2 separate regions of the Homo sapiens genome follow, and region 1 is linked to region 2. The links are contacts of gene promoters, found by promoter capture Hi-C in blood cells and fetal thymus (Javierre and others, 2016). All regions are on one chromosome and are shown on one strand. The core of a region is centred on a gene start or on the middle of the fragment in contact, and the rest is flanking DNA. Distances in the headings are between cores, read along the strand shown. Region 1 overlaps SNX32 (sorting nexin 32). Region 2 holds the start of FAM89B (family with sequence similarity 89 member B).

Evidence for each region. The method cuts DNA at HindIII sites, captures the fragments that hold promoters and counts their contacts. A CHiCAGO score of 5 or more calls a contact.
Region 1: a contact is called between a fragment that was not itself captured here and the fragment with the promoter of FAM89B in region 2, in 1 of 17 cell types (neutrophils). The highest score is 5.8, in neutrophils.

The regions. Positions count from the first base shown.
Region 1 is chr11:65,843,099-65,845,798 of GRCh38, forward strand. The region is part of intron 1 of SNX32 (sorting nexin 32); the gene reads left to right. Among named protein-coding and RNA genes, the nearest start is that of SNX32, 10 kb to the left of the region's middle. The HindIII fragment of the contact is 8,144 bases long and covers 1-2,700 here.
Region 2 is chr11:65,571,288-65,573,987 of GRCh38, forward strand. FAM89B (family with sequence similarity 89 member B) reads left to right here and starts at 1,251. Exons shown (of 2, transcript NM_001098785.2): 1 at 1,251-1,673; 2 at 2,076-2,700. The coding sequence starts at 1,383. The coding sequence ends at 2,354. It overlaps ZNRD2 (zinc ribbon domain containing 2), which reads left to right. Exons shown (of 4, transcript NM_006396.3): 4 at 104-601. The coding sequence ends at 447. RefSeq lists a silencer at 1,122-1,571. The HindIII fragment of the contact is 12,518 bases long and covers 1-2,700 here.

The DNA.
Region 1 (2,700 bases), core at 3-2,502, 270 kb after region 2:
TAGTCCCAGCTACTAGGGAGGCTGAGGCAGGAGAATGGCTTGAACCCAGGAGGTGGAGCTTGCAGTGAGCCGAGATTGCGCCAGTGCACTCCAGCCTGGGCGACAGAGCAAGACTCCGTCTCAAAAAAAAAAAAAAAAGAAAAAGAAATTAAAATTAAAATGAAGAAAATGAATTGAAAATAGATCATAGCCAGGTAGGGTGGCTCATGCCTGTAATCCCAGCACTTTGGGAGGCCAAGGAGGGTAGATCACTTGAGGTCAGGAGTTTGAGACCAGCCTGGCCAAAAGAGTGAAACCCCATCTCTACTAAAAATACAGAAATTAGCCAGGCGTTGTGGCGGGCACCTGTAATTGCAGCTACTCAGGAGGCTGAGGCAGGAGAATCACGAACCTGGGAGGCGGAGGTTGCAATGAGCCAAGATCGTGCCACTGCACACCAGCCTGGGCAACAGAGCAAGACTCTGTCTCAAAAGAAAAAGAAAAAGAAAAAGAAAATGGATTATAGATACAACTGCAAGAGCTTAAACTGTAACACCTCTAGAAAAATAAATAGAATATCTTCATGACCTTGGGGTAGGCAAAGTTTTCTTTAACAGGACACAAAAAGCCTTAACCATAGACATAAAAGACTGTTATGTTGAGCTTGTAACATTTGAACCATTAAGAGTCAAAGGCAAACTATAGACTAGGAAAAGATACTGACAAAAGGTATAATCAACAATGGGTTTGTCTCCAGCAACAGTTCCTACAAATTACTGAAAAACAGATAATCTGATCTTTCAAAGAGGTGGCAGGAAAGAATCAGAGACCTGAATAGGCACTTTACAAAAGAAGATATGCAGATGGCTGATAAATACAGAAAATGCCGCTCAACATCATTCCTCACCAGGTAATACCAGTTACACTCCCCATGCGCAATTACCATGCCTGGACTAACAGGGTGAAAGTAAAAAAGACTAACAATTCTGAGCTGTCACAGTGGTTTGTGCCCAGACTGATCTATATATTCGATGCAATCACAATCAAAATCCCAGTATGTTTTTCAGGGGTAGAAATGTAAAGGACCTATAATCACCCAAATGATTCTGAAAAAAAAGAATAAAGGTGGAGGCCTTGCACTATCTGATTTCCAGTCTCACCTGTTAGATTACAGTAATCAGTCCAGTGAGATATTATCATAAGGACAAACATAGACCAATGGAACAGAGAGTCCAAAGTTTATCATACTTAATAGGTCAATTGATACGTGTACACAAAAGCAGCTCTCAGCTACTCCAGAGGATTGCCTGAGCCCAGTTCAAGGCCAGCCTGGACAACATTAGCAGGACCCCTTTTCTTTAAAAAAAAAAAAATAATAAATAGAGAGAGAGAGAGATAAAATGACTAACGACTCTGTGGCAAAGATGTAGTACAACTGGAACTTTCATACACAGTGCTGCTGGGAGTGTACATTGGTTTAGTCACCTTAGAAAACCGTTTGGCAGTATTTACTAAAGTGTTTTAAACATACAATATGTCTTCCCTGTAACTAAGCAATTCTCATGCCCAACAGAAATGGGGACTTAGGTCAAAAGTCCTCAAAAGACGGCTGGGCGTGGTGGCTCACATCTGTAATCCTAGCACTTTGGGAGGCCGAAGCGGGCAGATCACTTGAGGTCAGGAGTTCAAGAGCAGCCTGGCCAACATGGCGAAACCCCATCTCTACTAAATTACAAAAATTAGCCAGGCGTGGTGGCGGGCACCTGTATCCCCAGCTACTCAGGAGGCTGAGGCAGGAGAATCACTTGAACCTGGGAGGCGGAGGTTGCTGTGAGCTAAGATCACGTCACTGCACTCCAGCCTGGGTGACACAGCAAGACTCTGTCTCAAAAAAAAAAAAAAAAGTCTTCTAAAGACCTGTGTAAGAATGTTCATGGAAGCCAGACATGGTGCTGCACACTTGTAATCCCAGCTACTTGGGAGGCTGAAGTGGAAGGATGGCTTGAGGCCAGGAGTTCAACCAGCCTGGGCAGCATAGCGAGAACACCCCCCTGCTTTAAAAAAAAAAAAAAAAAAAAAAGGCTGGGTGTGGTGGCTCACTCCTGTAATTCCAGCACTTTGGGAGGCCGAGGCGGGCGGATCATGAGGTCTGGAGATCGAGACCATCCTGGCTAACACAGTGAAACCCCGTCTCTACTAAAAAATACAAAATTAGCTGGGCGTGGTGGTGTATGACTGTAATCCCAGCTACTAGGGAGGCTGAGGCAGGAGAATGGCATGAACCCGGGAGGCGGAGGTTGCAGTGAGCTGAGATCGTGCCACTGCACTCCAGCCTGGGCAACAGAGCAAGACTCCATCTCAAAAAAAAAAAAAAAGTAACCGGTTGCAGTGGCTCACGCCTGTAATCCCAACATTTTGGAAGGCCAAGGTGGGCGGATCACCTGAGGTCAGGAGTTTGAGACCAACCTGGCCAACATAATGAAACCCCGTTTCTACTAAAAATGCAAAAAATTAGCCAGGCATGCTGGCCCATGCTTGTAATCCCAGCTACTCAGGAAGCTGAGGCAGGAGAATCGCTTGAACCAGGAGGCAGAGGTTGCAGTGAGCCGAGATCTTGCCATTACACTCCAGCTTGGTCAACAAGAGCAAAACTCCATCTCAAAAAAAAACCAACAAAAAACTGTTCATGGCAGCTTTATTCATAATAGCCAAAAACTTGAA
Region 2 (2,700 bases), core at 1-2,500:
AAAACACCTCAAGCACAGAAAGAGCAGAGCAGAAAAGGAGATGGCTCAGGGCTGAGGTGGGCCAGGCATCCTGACCATTCCACCCACTTTCTCCTCTTTTTAGCTCTGAATGCCCAGGCTGCCCTCTCCCAAGCTCGGGAGCACCAGCTGGCCTCAGCCTCAGAGCTCCCCCTGGGCTCTCGACCTGCGCCCCAGCCCCCAGTACCTCGTCCGGAGCACTGTGAGGGAGCTGCAGCAGGACTCAAGGCAGCCCAGGGGCCACCTGCTCCTGCTGTGCCTCCAAATACAGATGTCATGGCCTGCACACAGACAGCCCTCTTGCAGAAGCTGACCTGGGCCTCTGCTGAACTGGGCTCTAGCACCTCCCTGGAGACTAGCATCCAGCTGTGTGGCCTTATCCGCGCATGTGCGGAGGCCCTGCGCAGCCTGCAGCAGCTACAGCACTAAGAGAAGCCCCTGAGAAAAACCCTCTAGAAAAACAGCTGTTCCTCTGTGTGGTTTGTTTTTTTCCTGGTTCCAAGTGTGCATGCCAGCCCCAGCTCCACTCACCTTTTTCCAGCTTTTGGCCTCTTCACCTCTCCACTCTGCTCTCCTTGACGCCCTGAGATGAGTTGAGCTTGTTTCTTCTCAGTTTCCCCAGTCAGGATGAGGGAGTAGGTAGAGGACTATGTGATGCCCCTTTTCTAAGGAAGAAGCCATAGCCTTTTCAAAGGTAGCAGCCAGAGGGGTGGACCCTAGCCTTGTCTCTGGCAGCACCTCTGCAGCCTCTTCCGCCATCTGGTGTCCATTCCCCACCTGGAAGTGAGGTTTTGTGTTCCGATCCCCTTGATAGATTCCCCTCCTTCCCCTGAGCATCCTGACCCTATCAGCCTATCCCATCTCATGCCCACCCCAGGTACTCAGACACCGACAGGAGTTTGTGGTGACCCCAGCGTCAGGTGGCACGTTAGGCACCAAGTGTGGACTTGCCAGTCTCCTGACTCCACTGTTAGATCATTTTCCTTGGGTGTGGGGGCGGGGCGGGGCGCGGCGGGGAGACGGGGTAGCAAAAAGAACCGTGAAGAAACCACGCCTGCCCCCTTCAGCCTTTTCCCCCCTCCGCCGCATTTTTCCATCTCCCCTTGAGTGAGTGGATGTCCCGTTGCCTTTTCTCAGCTTTGCGCGACGTGGTCCCACAACCGTTGCCTTTTTAAGAGAGGCCCGGCCCATCCAGAGGGGGTGGGGCAGAGGCGGAGTCTGAGGAGCTGGGGAAGGAACAAAGCGAGGCCTGCGGGCGGCGGCTGGGCTCCGGCGGGGCCGCGGGGTGCGGGGCCTGCGGGCGGCGGCCCGGGCGGAGCGTTGGAGGGAAGGAGGTGGCATCGCCGTCCGCGCCGGCCCCGGCCATGAACGGGCTGCCCTCGGCAGAGGCGCCGGGCGGGGCGGGCTGCGCTTTGGCCGGGCTCCCACCGCTGCCGCGCGGCCTCAGCGGCCTCCTTAATGCGAGCGGGGGCTCGTGGCGGGAGCTGGAGCGCGTCTACAGCCAGCGCAGCCGCATCCACGACGAGCTGAGCCGCGCCGCCCGCGCCCCGGACGGGCCCCGCCACGCCGCCGGCGCCGCCAACGCGGGACCCGCAGCCGGCCCGCGTCGTCCTGTCAACCTCGACTCAGCGCTGGCCGCGCTGCGCAAGGAGATGGTGAGTGGGTGGGCGCCGGGCCAGCTGGGCGGGGGGCTGACGCGGAGGAACGCAGGGGACTGGGACAGGCGGCCTGGGTCTCAGAGGACTTGCAGGCACCAGTTGGGTTGCAAGGGTTATGGTAACAATAATTAGTGATAGTTACCAATTATGGCAGTAGTTACCATATATTTTCAAATGTTTTGCTGACGTTACTTCATTTCATCCGGCTAAATGGATAACCCCATTTTTTGGGTGAGGGTCATGACTAAAGTTGCATAGCTTGCAGGTGGTGCCTGATGTCCACAAAAACTTCGTTTAGGAAGGTGCGGGGAAGATGGGCTGGGGCCCACTATTCCAGGGGGCGGGGCTGGGCTGGGGTGGCCTGGACCCCAACTCCAGCCCACCCTCAGTTGTCTGCAGGTGGGGCTGCGGCAGTTGGACATGTCCTTGTTGTGCCAGCTGTGGGGCCTGTACGAGTCAATCCAGGACTACAAACACCTGTGCCAAGACCTGAGCTTCTGCCAGGACCTGTCATCCTCCCTCCATTCGGACAGCTCCTACCCACCGGATGCGGGCCTGTCTGACGACGAGGAGCCTCCCGATGCCAGCCTGCCTCCTGACCCGCCACCCCTTACTGTGCCCCAGACGCACAATGCCCGTGACCAGTGGCTGCAGGATGCCTTCCACATCAGCCTCTGAAGGGCTGGGGGGCAGGGGGCATGCACCCATGCAAAAGGCTCAGAAACTCCCCCTCCGGCAAGCCCTCAGACTTCGGAGCCTGCGCCTTCCCCCCTACCGCCTCACCTCACAGGAGGGCCAGGCATGTATTCCTCAGAGGCGAAACTGCCAAACTCTTTCTCCTGTCTTGGGTTGGCTGGCACTGGGGCGGGCATCTAGGGTACAGCCTCTGCTCATGGCACTGGGCCTCCAGTTCTTCCACATGTGTGCACCCCCAGCTTGGCCAACCCTCAGCCTTGCGGTGGGGCCCGAAGCATCTTCCCTTCCGCTTGGCGTCTCTGGGATTGGGATGAGTGCCTGGCTCCCA